Linked DNA regions of Homo sapiens: region 2 is linked to region 1. The links are contacts of gene promoters, found by promoter capture Hi-C in blood cells and fetal thymus (Javierre and others, 2016). All regions are on one chromosome and are shown on one strand. The core of a region is centred on a gene start or on the middle of the fragment in contact, and the rest is flanking DNA. Distances in the headings are between cores, read along the strand shown. Region 1 holds the start of ZNF326 (zinc finger protein 326). Region 2 holds the start of GTF2B (general transcription factor IIB).

What was found. The method cuts DNA at HindIII sites, captures the fragments that hold promoters and counts their contacts. A CHiCAGO score of 5 or more calls a contact.
Region 2: the fragment with the promoter of GTF2B here is called in contact with the fragment with the promoter of ZNF326 in region 1 in 6 of 17 cell types (total CD4 T cells, naive CD4 T cells, activated CD4 T cells and 3 more); the score reaches 13.6 in total CD4 T cells.

The regions. Positions count from the first base shown.
Region 1 is chr1:89,989,095-89,996,589 of GRCh38, reverse strand. It overlaps ZNF326 (zinc finger protein 326), which reads right to left and starts at 1,480. Exons shown (of 12, transcript NM_182976.4): 1 at 1,317-1,480. The coding sequence starts at 1,332. It also overlaps the pseudogene GEMIN8P4. RefSeq lists enhancers at 765-814, 696-1,261, 1,262-1,828 and a silencer at 1,035-1,674. The HindIII fragment of the contact is 7,808 bases long and covers 180-7,495 here.
Region 2 is chr1:88,889,472-88,896,593 of GRCh38, reverse strand. GTF2B (general transcription factor IIB) reads left to right here and starts at 5,027. Exons shown (of 7, transcript NM_001514.6): 1 at 5,027-5,111. The coding sequence starts at 5,095. RefSeq lists an enhancer at 4,742-4,851. The HindIII fragment of the contact is 16,776 bases long and covers 582-7,122 here.

The DNA.
Region 1 (7,495 bases), core at 231-2,730:
AATATTCATAGTTTAAAGGTATCTACATCAAAATGAGTTAAAGTCCAACCAAAACAAACAAAACCACGAGAGTGTGCTACTCTTAAGAGCTGAACTTACTATTTCAAAGTAACTGAAAAGTATCTACAAGAGGGCTATTCCAGTCCCCTTTCACAAATCTGTACCTAGATATGAAAGCTTTAATTCTTTGTTGCATGAAATGTTATGAAAAATCAAAAGCTCATCGAGTAAGACATATGCTGAGATCACACCTCATTTAAAGATCATTTTTTTGGTGGGGTTAAAAGTTTACAGCCTACTTAGTGAACTGGTTTTACTTAAGCATGCCTGGTTACTCAGGATTAAATCCAGTTTAATCACATAAGTCCTTTCCCATGTCTCCCTAATGTTGTCACTACATACCACTTTATCTTGACACCAATTCCAAGCAAGGTTTGAAAACAAAAGTGAAGACCAAATTAATATTACTTTGTGACCCTGTAAAAGTGGTTTAAAGAATTAGTATCTGAGACAACTGAAAAGTATTGCTAAAATACAGTTTATTTAATCCGTAAGTCAAACACTTACAAGGCTGTGTACAGGTCTAAATGTGAAGGACATTTGATGCTTGCTGTGCCAAAATTCTGATTAACTTAAATCCTACCTACACACGATCCAAAGAAAAGTGCTTTGGTTCACATAAATATTTCAAGTTAGGGATTAATAAGCAGGTAATTTTTGGTGATAAACACCCCAGTTTACTAACCAGGAAACATCTTGCTTTCCATTTTGCATAGATATTTATCTATACATATCACTTACAGACACCCTTTCAACTCATCTTAAACCGGGACAAACAGAAACATCACTGTGAACAAGCCTCTGAAAATTCTATCTGGCAAGAAGTAACCCGAGGCTGAGGATTAACTAAACGGACGGTCTGGGTCGCTGCCCTGTGGGGCGAATGCGAGACTAGGTGGGTGAGGCCGCACTCGCCCGTTTGCCCGAGACCGGGAAGTTGGAGACGTCGGGGCAATTTCCACTACCAGGGGCCAAGGCGAGTCTGGGGCTCCAGCCCGGAGGCTCTCGCGCTCTAGGCGCGTCCTACCGGACACCGAGTTCTCTTGTCTCCGCCGGCAGCGGGCGCCGAGCGGGCCGAATCGGGGCGCGTGGGTCCCCAAAGAGGCCGACTCCGGGCGCTGGGCCCGGGGCGGGCGGGCGGCCTCCGGGCCCGCAGAACAAAGCCCACACGGCCATCTTGAGACGGTAAACAGACCCCCTGCGTAGGCCACCCCGCCTCCTGCCAGCTGCGCCGACCAGCCAGAGGCAGCGCTTACCGTCCTCGAAGTCCATGGCAGAGGCTGAGGGCCGTCGGCCTTGGCGGCGCTAGGCTGAGCTATGGCCGGCGGCGAGCGTCCGCGACCCGCGATTCCACACGATCACTCCGCGCGACCGAGAGCGGCGCGCTACCAGCCCGGGAGCCGCAGGCCACAGCGAGGCTGGGGAGGCGGGGCCGACCGGCGCTACCAGCCCCATCGGCGCGGCCTGCTATTGGCTGACGCGGGCTGGTGGGCGGGCCCTCGCGTGGGGGGCGGGAAGCAGGTCCGCTGTCACGCTCGGAGGTGCTGACCCTCTGGAGCCGCTGACGGGGAAGGAAGGTAAAAAAGGAGCGCTAAAGATTGGCGGGGGTTGTGGGAAAGCAAGCCGAGTGTACGGGAAGGGCCGGCTGCGGCCCGCCATGTTTGAACCTGGCAAGAGCGAAAGAAGCCGGTTGGAATGCCTTCTTCCTGCCCAAACTAATAAAACCGCATGCCTACCTTTTGCTTAGTATTGGCTAGGGATGACTAATCATAACATTTGTAAGTACTTACGGGGTTTCCTCCATGGAGACACAGAAGTCTGGGACGTTTCTAGAAGCCTGTGGCAAATTTGAAAAGCAAGATACAAAATAGCGTATGGAGTCTGATTATCGCTATGTCAATAAATTTTCTTAAAGGACAAAGCACTGAAATAAAATGGAAATAATAATTCTTTTAAAAAATTTTTAAATTATTTTTATAGAGATGGGGGTTTTGCCATGTTGCCCAAGCAGGTCTCCAACTCCTGGACTCAAGCGATCCCCCCACCCCCAGCCCCGTCTCCGCCTCCCAAAGTGTTAGGATCACAGGCGTGAGCCAATGCGACCCGCCTGGAAAGAATTCTAAAACATGGCCTGCTTGGCCACCGCCCAGGATCTGCAAGCTGCGCGCCCACAAGTTTCGGCACCCATTTGGACTTTCACAATCGGAGATGGCAGTGGTGAAGGCATCAACATCAAAAGCTACCAGGCCTTGGTATTCTCATCCAGTATATGCAAGATACTGGCAACATTATCATCAAGCAATGGCTTGGATGCAAAGCCACCACAATGCCTACAGGAAGGCGGTGGAATCCTGTTTCAGTCTTCCATGGTTCTTCCTTCCTGCGCTTCTTCCCCAAAGCTCTTACGATAACCAGGCTGCGTATCCTCAGTCCTTCTATGACCATCATGTGGCCTAGCAGGACTCCCCCTGCAGTTCTTCACATTTCAGAGGGTCTGGGCAACATCCACATGGCAGCAGTAGGATCCAGGCATCCACAAGAGAAGACCAAGCCTTATCCAAGGAGGAAGAGATGGAGACCGAGTCAGATGCAGAGGTAGCATGTGACCTGAGCAATATGGAAATCACCGAAGAGCTCCGCCAGTACTTTGCAGAGACAGAGAGGCACAGAGAAGAACTACTGCGGCGGCAACAGCTGGATGCGGAGCGCCTGAACAGCTACGTGAACGCTGAACACGACCTGTACTGCAACACCCGCCGGTCGGTAGAGGCCCCAGCTGAGAGGCCTGGTGAGCGGCGCCAGGCCGAAATGAAGCGTTTGTACTGGGACAGCGCCGCCAAGATCCAGGCCATGGAGGCTAACGTGCAGCTGAGCTTTGACAAGCACTGTGATCCAAAGCAGCCTAATTACTGGCCGGTCATCCCCCCGAAGTTCTGAGCTCGGGGCACAGGGCACCCAGCCTCTTCCTCTTCCTTTTGGATACGCGCTCTTCATCTCTCCTTCTGTACATTTCTCAGGGAAAGGGGACTTTGTACTGAGGTACAGGCACGTTCACCACAGTCCCAGTGGGCCTGTCACGGGGTGGATGTACTGTGCCAGCCACTTGGAGGTCGGCAGGACATATTCTGTTGCCAACATGATAAATTTTATCCTGACATAAAATGATAATTTTGTATATATTATACTGGTTTTTTATGTTGTCAGTAACAGTTCAATTCATTAAAGTTCTTGCCTAGAAAAAAAAAAAAGAATTCTAAAACATGAACGATGATTCTTTTTGTGATGACTTTTTATATACACATGATTATGTGTTCTTCTATATCTCCAAATTCTTGAGCACTTTCATAATGTAAAATATATATTTGGCCTAAAACAAGATTTATTATTTATTAATGATTAGTGTTTGTTAAAAGTTCTCTTTAGCCAAATATTATGTTTCATTTTCTTTGAAGATATACTTAGTGATGCGGAGGTGGGGGGCTCTCTTGGCCATTTAAGTCAGTGGTTCTTGATTGTGACTCTACTCTGGAATCCTCCAGGGCACTTTTAGTAAGTGCCAATACTCAGGTTTCACTTCAGGGGTTCTGATTTGATAATGAACCAAAACTGTCACCAATGTTTATTTTCAAGACATTTAAAAGAGATGTTATTGGACTAATTTCTCTTCTGTTTCAGTAACCTGTACTCCTTGAGAAAATGTCAAGTCTAGAAAAAATAACTTTAGAGACAGGCTATGATCCAGTTCTGAATTTTAAGGTGCAAATAAAAGAGCTGTAACAGTTCACAGATGGGTAAGATTTGTGGCAGAAGAGTCATCCAGAGCTTGAAGGATGACCTATAGAAACACACACACACATACTGGATTGTATTATTGCCACTTTGGAAACAGTGTTTGAGACATGGACAAAGTTATTCAAACATTCAGGAATCTGGAAAAAGACAAACTGACATTGGAGCAGTTTGAACCACAGATTAAAAAACTTTTTTTTTTTCATAGAGCAAACGGTGGCAACAATGAGTTGATCACCAGATAGGAAACCATGAATCAAATTATTTACCTTTTTTCAGGGTCCACCCAGTTGCTGGAACCAAGTTTCAAGGAGGCAACCTCTGGAAATACAACTACAAGAAAAGCTCACAGATACACTATGTGTATTACTGTTGCCCCGGAAATGGGCAGAGCATTTTTTCCTCCTCCATCCTGATTGATTCACCCTGTTCTCCACCCTTTTCTTGTTTCCTCCTTTTTTCCCTTCTATGCAGATACTTCTCCACTTACTTGAGGTTACATCCCAATAAGCCCTTCATAAACTGAAAATATCACAAGTCAAAAATGCATTTAATATGCCTAACCTATTGAACATCATAACTTCACCTAACCTACCTTAAATGTGCTTAGAACATTTACATTAGCCTACAGTTGGGCAAAGTCATCTGGCAGCACAGTACATTGTAGAATATCAGTTGTTTACCCTTGTGATTACATCGCTGACTGGGAGACGCTGCCCAGCCTTGGAAAAGAGTATCCTACTTCATGTCACTAGCCTGCAAAAAGATCAAAATTCAAAATTGGATTATAGTTTCTACTAAATGCACGTCACTTTCACACAGCTATAAAGTCAAACCATAGTAAGTCAGAGACCATCTATACATGTTTTATATTCACCTAAGCTGAACATTTTGAAAACTGAACTCATAATTTCAAACCTGTTCGTCCTCCTGTATCCTTTCATCTCTGTTAGTGGCATCATGAACAGCCACACACTAATCCCAGCTTACGAGTCATCTAGTCAAAACTCAGCCCTCCCTCATCCTCCCACCTCCAATCCATTCTGAAGTCTTTCATCTGTTTATTAGTGCCTAAAATATCTTAAACCTGCCCCCTCCTCTTCATCCCCACTGCCACAACCTAAGTTTAGACTCTCATTATCTCTCTCCAAAACTATTGCCTCAGCTTCCTAATTAATCTCTCTGTCTTTCAGCCTCCTCAGGGTTGCAGTGATCTAAATGCAAATCTCAACATGTCATCATGCGTCTCTGTCAAGGATTAGGTGTAGTCAAATCTCCTTACCCTAGAACACATGCAGCAGGATCTGGCCACTGCCTGAACTGCGTCATCTCTCTGCATTTCCCTTGCCTCCTCTCTCCCACACTCTCTCTTTTGATTACCAATTTTAGGCGACAGGTTCCCAAAACACCCCTGTGCTTTTTCATACCACTGAACTTTTGCTTATGTTGTTTCCTCTGCTTGGAACACCACCTGGTTAACCGTACTCATCTTCAAAACACAGCTCAGGATTTATTTCCTGTAAGAATCAGTCCCAGATCCCAACCCCACCCCCTGGGTCAGTACTTCTCAAATATTTAGCATGCAAATGATTCACCTAGGGACTTGTTAAGACAAAAATCACATTCAGTCAGTCTTGGGTGGAACTGGACAGTCTGTATTTCTAACAAACTTCCAGGAGATGCTGCCGCTGGTGGAGCCACACGTGGAGTAGGAAGGCCTTGGGTTCTGTGACTGCACTATCTCCCATGCATTAAATACCCTGGCTTTATGTCTTCCCACATTAAAAGCTCTTTGGGATTAGAATCAAGACTTCTTTGCATCTTAAGTGCCAAATATATATGTTTACCAAGAAAACTGAGTTCTCACTGAATGTTTTTAGCTTTTTTTTCTTATAATTTTCCCCCCGTTTTCCTCTGGCAAAGAAATGATTTTGTAGCCTGAGGTCTTTAGGTGTTGGCATGACTAGAAGGGAATAAATATTGGGTCATTGTATTTGTGTGTCATGTGTGTATGTGTGTGCACACACACATACACACACACGCCCCTCTTCCCTAAAAGAGAAGACTGCCAGACAAGGAATTCCTAACTTAGAAACAAACCTGACCTTGGCACAAATGCATGGAAAGCCACAATACACATATATTTTCTCCCTTTCCTTCCTGTTTCCCTCCTCTTTCCCAAATAGGAGGTGCTGTTCCAGAGGCAGATGGCCATACCGCAGAGATATCTCACAATACATGAGACTATCCAGCTGTCTCCTAATTCATTTATTAAACGAATATTGACTGAACACCAACTATGTACCAAGCATCATTTTCTCACTTCACAGTTATCTCTCTCCCACCCCCTACCCCCCACAGTCTAGCTAGGCTGCCTGTCCTGTTCTTACTTTGTTAGGCGCAGATTTTTATCTTAAAGGGCCAATGCTTTGTACAAAGTCTCATGCCATTTCATCTTCCATATATTTTACAACAGATGGCAGGTAAATAATGCCAGACCGGCAAAGTCCGAAGTAAAATAAAAAAGAATAGGGCTTTTTATGTGAAGATGTAAAAGGATATAGGGCTGAAGTCAAGAGAAGACTTCTGGGAGAAGGAGGAAATGTGAGGTTACACCTAGGACCTGATCCTGAGGGAGTTGTCAGAGAAGCCCCACCCTGGAACCTGAGAAGAACTAAGTGAGTGGACTCCCTGAGGAGCCAGGGACCTTTGTTCCTCATCTCCTAACCACCTGCCTACATTCCTTCTGCTCTAACAACACAGGCCCATCTGCTGTTCCCCGAACAAGCTGTGTATTTTCACTTTCCCGGACTTTGCTCATGTTGAACTCTCTGCCTCTATCATGTTTCCTCTCTTCCTTTGCCATTCTTCAGGCTCAGTATAAATGTTGCTTCTTTGTAAACCTCTCCCGAAGTTCTTAATCAGAATCCCCTTCACTCTCTGTAACCTTATAAGTGGTTATCACAGCTGGATTTTTGCTATAATTAGTGAGTGAATTAGTTATATCCTTGCCTTGCTTCTTGTTCACACTCTTTGAGTGTGGAGACCCTTCTTTGCAACCCTTTGTATGGCCTGTACATAGCACATTGTCACTATGTATGTTGAAGGGGAGGAGCATCAACCAAATGATGAAAAAACTTAGACTGAAATGAGGTCTCAGAGCTTCTTCTGCAGAAAATCACTGTTGTACAATTACTTTGGAGAGAAGGTGACAATAGCATTGCAAAGGAGAGTCTTGATTACACGATGCTTTCCTAATTTGCCGCCAAATAATTCTTCCTCCGTGTTCTTTTTTTGTTCTTGTTTTGTTTTGTTTGTTTGTTTGTTTTTCTCTGCAGCCCAAGCTGGAGTGCGTGGCGCGCTCTCCGCTCACTGCAAGCTCAGCCTCCCGGGTTCACGCCAGTCTCCTGCCTCAGCCCCCTCCCCGAGTAGCTGGGACTACAGGCGCCCGCCGCCACGCCCAGCTAATTTTTTGTATTATTCGTAGGGACGAGGTTTCACTGTGTTAGCCAGGATGGTCTCGATCTCCTGACCTCATGATCCTCCCGCCTCGGCCTCCTAAAGTGCTGAGATTACGGGCTTGAGCCACCGCGCCCGGCCATCTTCCTCCATGTTCTTTAGGGAATCCATAGAGGCTTAGAGAAGG
Region 2 (7,122 bases), core at 3,778-6,277, 1.1 Mb after region 1:
TAGACAGAGTTTCACTTTGTGCCCAGGCTGGAGTGCAGTGGCATGATCTCAGCTCACTGCAGCCTCAACTTCCTTGAACTCAGGTGATCCTCCCACCTCAGCCTCCCAAGTAGCTAGGACTACAGGGACGTGCCACCACACCGGGCTAATTTTTATATTTTTTGTAGAGATGGGGTTTCTTTATGTTAGCCAGGCTGGTCTTAAACTCCTGGGCTGAAATGATCCTCCCTCCTTGGCCTCCCAAAGTGCTGGGACTACAGGAGTGAGCCACCATGGGCAGCCATAAGCAGGAAAACTTTAGAATCAGTCGTTTCTGGCTGTGAATTCTACCTACATCACTAACTTATTGTGTGACCCTGGGAAATTTACCTACTTGACCTCTCTAAGCCTTTAGAAGCAAAATAATAATAATACTTGCCTGACAAGATAACCAAGAAGTAGCTAAGATAAAATGTGAAGTGCCTGGCAGAGGCCTGATGCATAAAGACCTGGATGGAGCCTACTTCAAATAACTCAACTATTTCTTGTAGCTTCTCCAGGGACCCTCTTTTTTTCACTCTCTGGCTCCCTCCCACCAAGCTTCTACTACACAGCATTAGGTGTGTGAGGAATGTATTATTCTTAAAAATAGAAAAGTGTAGCTGTCCTATTTTTAAGAATACAACCTTGGACACCTGTACTGCAAAACCTGCATGTTAGAGATCTATTCCACTCAGAAAAAAAGAAAAAGAAAAACTTAGATGCAGACATAATAAAGCCAACTTCCAAATGATGAGCAATCTGCATTGCTCTCCAATTTCTATGATGCTCCACCAGCCTCCCAGTCCCTTCGCCTCTATGCACTGCAATGCAGGTACCCTCATAATACTGTGGAGGGGCAAGTAGGGGTGAGGGATAGTTCTCATATTGGAAGGGTGAAATTTGGCTTCCAGACCCCATTGCACTGCCTCGGCTTCAGCAGGGACTTACTCTTTTGCTTGGTGAAACCAAACCAAGAAGCAGGCCCAGGACCACCTCCAGCTGAAAACTTGGTGTGTTAAGATATCACTGGTGACTTGGTAAGTATTATATTGCTATGTAAAAAAGGTTTAAAAGTCCGTATTTCTAAGAGATGTACATAAATGTATATATGGGTTCAGGTAATAGATAAACTTTGTTTTAAAATAATTCAGCAAACGGAGAAGTAAAGAGAAGGATACATGAAACAAATGTGTCAACATCTTGATAACTGTGTAATCAGGATGATGGGTATGATGGGGATTTATAATATTATTCCCATTATTCTGTCCCATTTTTGTGTTTGAACATTCTCAAACATAATTTTAAAATCTGAGAAATTTAAAAAACCTTCACATTTTTAGGAACAATACATATGGTCTTATAGCCACCAGGCACATGAGGCTTGTCTAATATCCTAGGCATCTTTTTCCATCTCCAAAAGAGTCTAGTAGGATCTGGTCTGTTCATACATTCCATCAAATCCTCTGTTCTTCCTAGTCCAAGAGGATATGTCTTTTAATTTCCAAACAAATATTTCTGAAGCCTTGCTTAAGTTGGGGAATTGCCATCTTCTCCAACATCACCATGCAGACACTTAAAAATGTTTTCAAAAGTGAAACCATGAGGTAAATCTAATGACCCTCTAAAACATTATGACAGGTAAAATAATCCAGACACAAAAGACGACGTATCATATGATTCCATTTATATGAAAAGCCCAAGAAAGGCAAATCCATAGAGACAGAGAGTAGATTAGAGGGTCATGGGGCTGGAAATGGGATAGGCATATAATGTAAATGGGCATAAAAGATCGTATTGGGATGATGGAAATGTGCTAAAACAGGATTGCGGGGATGGTTGTACAACTCAGTTGCCAAAAATCATTAAATTTTAAACAGGTGAATTTTACTATATGTAATTATATCTCAATAAAGTTGATTTTTAAAAAAGAAATCTAGCTAGGTCACAAGCATTTTTTTTTTTTTTTAGATGGAGTCTCGCTCTGACACCCAGGCTGGAGTGCAGTGGTGCAATCTTGGTTCACTGCAACCTCCACCTCCTGGGTTCAAGCGATTCTCCTGCCTCAGCCTCCCAAGTAGCTGGGACTACAGGTGTGTGTCAACACACCTGGCTAATTTCTGTATTTTTGGGAGAGACAGGGTTTCACCATGTTGGCCAGGCTGGTCTTGAACTCCTGACCTCAGGTGATCCACCTGCCTCGGCCTCCCAACGTGCTGGGATTACAGGCGTGATTCACGATGCCAGGTGGGTCACAAGCATTTTTAAATCATTTATTAGTCATGTAAAACATTTTATACTTAAAATGAACTATAGCACATCAACTTGAGATTTCACAGTAGTGATATAAACTTTTCGAATAACTTTCTAAGTAAAAAGATGAATTAATTTAAACCATTGCTTTAAATCATTTTAATTTACATAATTAATTTAAGTAACAATTATTATACAAACCAGAAGTTTTGGTGAATGCTAGTTAGGTTATTGGTTCCCAAGTGATAAAACCCCAGCTCTGTGTGTGTGTGTGTGTGTGTGTGTGTGTGTGTGTATTTTAACCTCAAGATCAATAATAAATATTAAATGGGATTATGTTGATTAAAATGCTTTGTAAATTTCCAGTGCTGTACTAACAAAAGAAAACGAATGGCTTACCTAAGGTGCCTTCTATTTTAATACAAAAGAAATTCTTACAAGTTTATGACAGACAAGAGACTCTCCAGGTGGGGCAGGAGTTAATTTAACCAGTAGTGCTGCCTCCCTTTTCTAGGGTTTCAATTTCTTCCTTCAACAAACATTATTGAATGCCTACCATGAATCCACTAGGTGCAGGTCCATGTTCTGGATCCTTAAGAGATGCACAGTTGTCTTATTCCTCCTCTTCCTCCAAGTTAAGATGCTTTACTATGAAACCTCTACTGGACTGAGGTGCAGCACCCCCAAGCCCTTTCCTGGTTGCACTTGACAAAAATATTGAGGGAGGAAAAAACCCCCACAAGAGTACAGTCAAGTTTTTAAAATTACAGAATTACAAAATAGAAGATTGGGATTGGGAAAGAAAAAAGAAATCATGCTCCCCGGTTCCCACCTAGATTTGAGTTCCTAAAATCCTGCCTCTCGCACCCCTTTTTCTTTCTAAGGAAGCTAGTATCTCCCACCTTCTCAAGAAAACAGTGAGTGCTCCATTACATTTAAATCCCATCCCCAGATGAAGGAAGCAGTCATTATCTTCTAAGTTCTCAGCCCCATGAAAACCACCATGAAAATACCAATCCCCGTATTTTCAAGAATAGTTGTCAGCAAAGTGTTGCCGCAGGAGAATACTGTCTGAAGGCAGGGAACCTAAGGCAGATTCACACTGATTTCCTAGAACTAAATCAAATGGAAAACCCCGGCCGGGCGCGGTGGCTCACGCCTGTAATCCCAGCACTTTGGGAGGCCAAGGCGGGCGGATGACGAGGTCAGGAGATCAAGACCATCCTGGCTAACAGGGTGAAACCCCGTCTCTACTAAAAATACAAAAACAAAATTAGCCGGGCGTGGTGGCAGGCTCCTGTAGTCCCAGCTACTCGGGAGGCTGAGGCAGGAGAATGGCGTGAACCTGGCAGGCGGAGCTTGCAGTGAGCCCAGATCGCGCCACTGCACTCCAGCCTGGGCGACAGAGCAAGACTCCGTCTCAAAAAAAAAAAAAAAAAAGGAAAACCCCAACTTTCCACACCTAAGTAACAAAAGAACCAGACGTTACTCCCTTTGCAACCCCCTCCCCACTACACAACCACACACACACACACACACACACACACACACACTTTAGCCGTGTGGCAGATGTGAAATTGAAAGTATCTCTGATTCGTTGCTTTCTGCAACCAATCAGACGCTTGCATAGGAGTGTAACTTTGTAACTTCACTTTAGCCTCTGATTGGTTGCTTTCCACAACCAATCAGACTGATTGTGGAGCCACTACTTCATTTACATAGGGTGTACACCATGTAACCAATGGGAAACCTCTAGAGGGTATTTAAACCCCCGAAAATTCTGCAAAAGGAGTCTTGAGCTGGTATTACCTTTTCGTTTTCAATAAATCTCTGCCTTTATTCCTTCATTCTTTCCTTAGTTTGTGCGTTGTGTCCAGTTCTTTGTTCAAAACGCCAAGAACGTGAATACTCTCCACCGGTAACTGTTATTGTTGTTAGTAATAGTGGTATTACAATTTTGACGTTAGTTTGGCTAATTAATAAATCTAGGGATATTTTGCAATATCTAGATGTTCTCGCAAGTTTTCTATATGTAGCTATCAGCCAACGTTACAAAGGCCGTGAAAAAAAAATGATCAGAGCATGGCCCATATCGTCGTGCCTCTTGTGTACACATTGGTTTCACGTAGTTTTGTTTCATCTTCTGCCAATTCTAAAAGGGTATGCAAGGCAAGATACCATAACCTATATAAACTTACATGACCTGTATAAAGGACGTGCCTAAGAAGACAACATGCTAGCTGATGACAGATCCTGAACAGACACCTGTTCTGGATGACCTAAGTGAGTTTCTCCTTTTATTTCAAATTTCTTAGAAAGAATCACCCTTGGGGCACGTAAGAACTGGCTCAAATGGGAGTGCCTGACGCGGGGTGGGGGGCTGGGGGCGGGGTAGGTGGTGGCCGTGAGAAGGTAGCCGTGAGAAGGTGGGAGAGGAAGGGGTGGTTAAACTATTAGGGATGCAGGCTTTGGCACCACTACGAAGCCAGGGTTTTCTTTGTGTTTTAACTGTCAGATTGAGAGTAGCTCTGTTGTAGCCCCTTTGCAGGGTTCCCATGAGACTTTTCCTAGGTAGTTACGTTGACTCGCTTAGCAACATAGCAAATTACAGAAACGGAGTAAGAACGTAAGAAATCGCAAAGCACGTGACGTATGGGATCTCACTGTTCTTGGCCCTTCTCCCGACCCGTAGCCCTGCTCTGCTACGACTGCGTGGGTGAGTCGTCTATAAAAACTCATCTCTGCGCGTCTCTTCGCCACATTCGCTTCCTGCTTTCGGTGTGTCTGTTGTGTCTTGTTGCGGGCACCGCAGTCGCCGTGAAGATGGCGTCTACCAGCCGGTTAGTATGTCCCGCCGAGCCCGGCGAGCTGAGGGGCGGGCGCGAGCGCCGCCGGCTTTTAGGCGGCCTCCGGGCAGCCTCGTAGGGCTGAGCGCCTAGGGGTATGGGAGAGAAGCGGCGGGACTGGCCGACGGGCCGGGACAAAGGCACTTCCAGACGGCAGGACTGTCAGGGTGTCGCAGGGGTTACCGAGCTGTTGACGTTATTGCCCTGGAGTCTTATGTAGATATCACCCTATGTGGGTCCTGGTGGGCTACTGTGTCCCCAGTCCTTGCCCTCGTATCTTTTCCCAATATTTCAATCTCCCTTTATTTTCTCTTCTTCCCACCCTCCCTCCTCTCCTCCCCCGCGCCCCCCCCCCCGCTTGTTTTTTTCATCTACGGCCCAAACAACCCGAGGGTCCGTAATTTCTCCTTTTCAAAGGAACGGGAAACAGTTAGTTTCAGGTTCCTATCGATCTGACAGCTAGGAAGTTGGGAACGTCAGCATTGGTAAGCCAGATGGAACCTGGTTGGTTACCATCACAGCGGGCCTCGGAAGTGGAAGCTAGAGCCATCGGAAGAGTTGATTAGTTCCCTGCTAAAGGATTTGTTTACAAATATCGTTGCCTGTGTACTTCTGAAGAAAATCTTGCCAAAGAAAATTAGTTATATGTGCTGGGAGGTCGCTTTTTAGTATATATTTAAGAATGCAGTGTACTCATATCTACAGGAAATGCATGCAGTACCCTCAGAAACAGCCTTTAATCTTGTGACCTGAAAAATGCTTGCAGACCCTAATTATGTCTCTCATTACCACTGTGAGGTAGATATTAGTATTTTTGCATAAGTGTAAACTGAGTCATGCCAATGTTGACTTTTCCAAGAGTCGTGTTAGAGTGTAGAGTCTAAGACAACCTGTTTCCTGTTATCCACACCTGGCCTTTGGTTAACTAATCCTGTGTTGAAAGTATCAAATTAATTCTACAGCTTCTGGAACTCTGGCACTATTTTTCTGACCCTGCTATCATCTGTGGAATTGGTTAATTTCACAGTGAAAGCCATTTTTACAAAATAGCCTTTTCTGGTAACTGCCAAGACTTACATTTTATGATTAGAAAAGGAATTTGGGGTGGGAGGCAGCTTTAGCTAATATACTGTTTGAACAGAACTCATAAAGCCAGTGACACTCTTGTTTACTGATTCTGATTCTTGGATTGGATGCTCAGTCATTCTATCTGGGTGTTGTTCTGTCGGGTAAGGCCTCCTTGTAGGTAAATGGAAAACTTGGGCTCCCCAGATCACTCAAATACGACTTAAAATTCTACCATGGCTTTTTTTTTTTTTAATTCTATCATGGCTTTTTAAGTCTGAAATTTTTTTCTAGATATGTGCAATTTATGTATCATAGCAGTTATTGCTCAAGTTTTTCTATCAGTGACAACAAAGAAAGTTAAATGCAGTATTTTTTATTTTATGGAACAGGCCTGGGCTGAAGTGTAGGTGGCACGATCATGGCTCACTGCAGCCATGACCTCCCCAGTTCAAGTGATCCTCCCACCTCAGCCTTCTGAGTAGCTGGGACCATAGGTACACACCACGTGCCTGGCTAATTTTTTTATTTTTAAATTTTATTAATTTTTATTTTTGTGGAGACAAGGCCTAGTTACATTGCCCAGGCTGGTCCTGAACTCCTGGGTCCAAGCAGTCCTCCGGCTTTGGCCTACCAAAGTGCTGTGGTAACAGGCATGAGCCACTGCGCCCAGCCTAAATATAATATTTCTACCTTTTGCATGTTTTTCCCTCAGGAAGGTGTATTGTCACTAGGCCATGAAACTGGCTGGTGTCCTCACAGAGGAGTACAAATGTTCTGAGTTCAAATGTAAGCTCCGCCACTTATTAGTTCCATGACTTCAGGCAAATCATTCTCTGAGCATAATTTTTTAAATGTGAAATAGTGCCTTTCTTGCAGGATTGTTGTGGAGATTGACAATAATAAATGTATAACACAAGTAATACAGTCCATGCCCAAT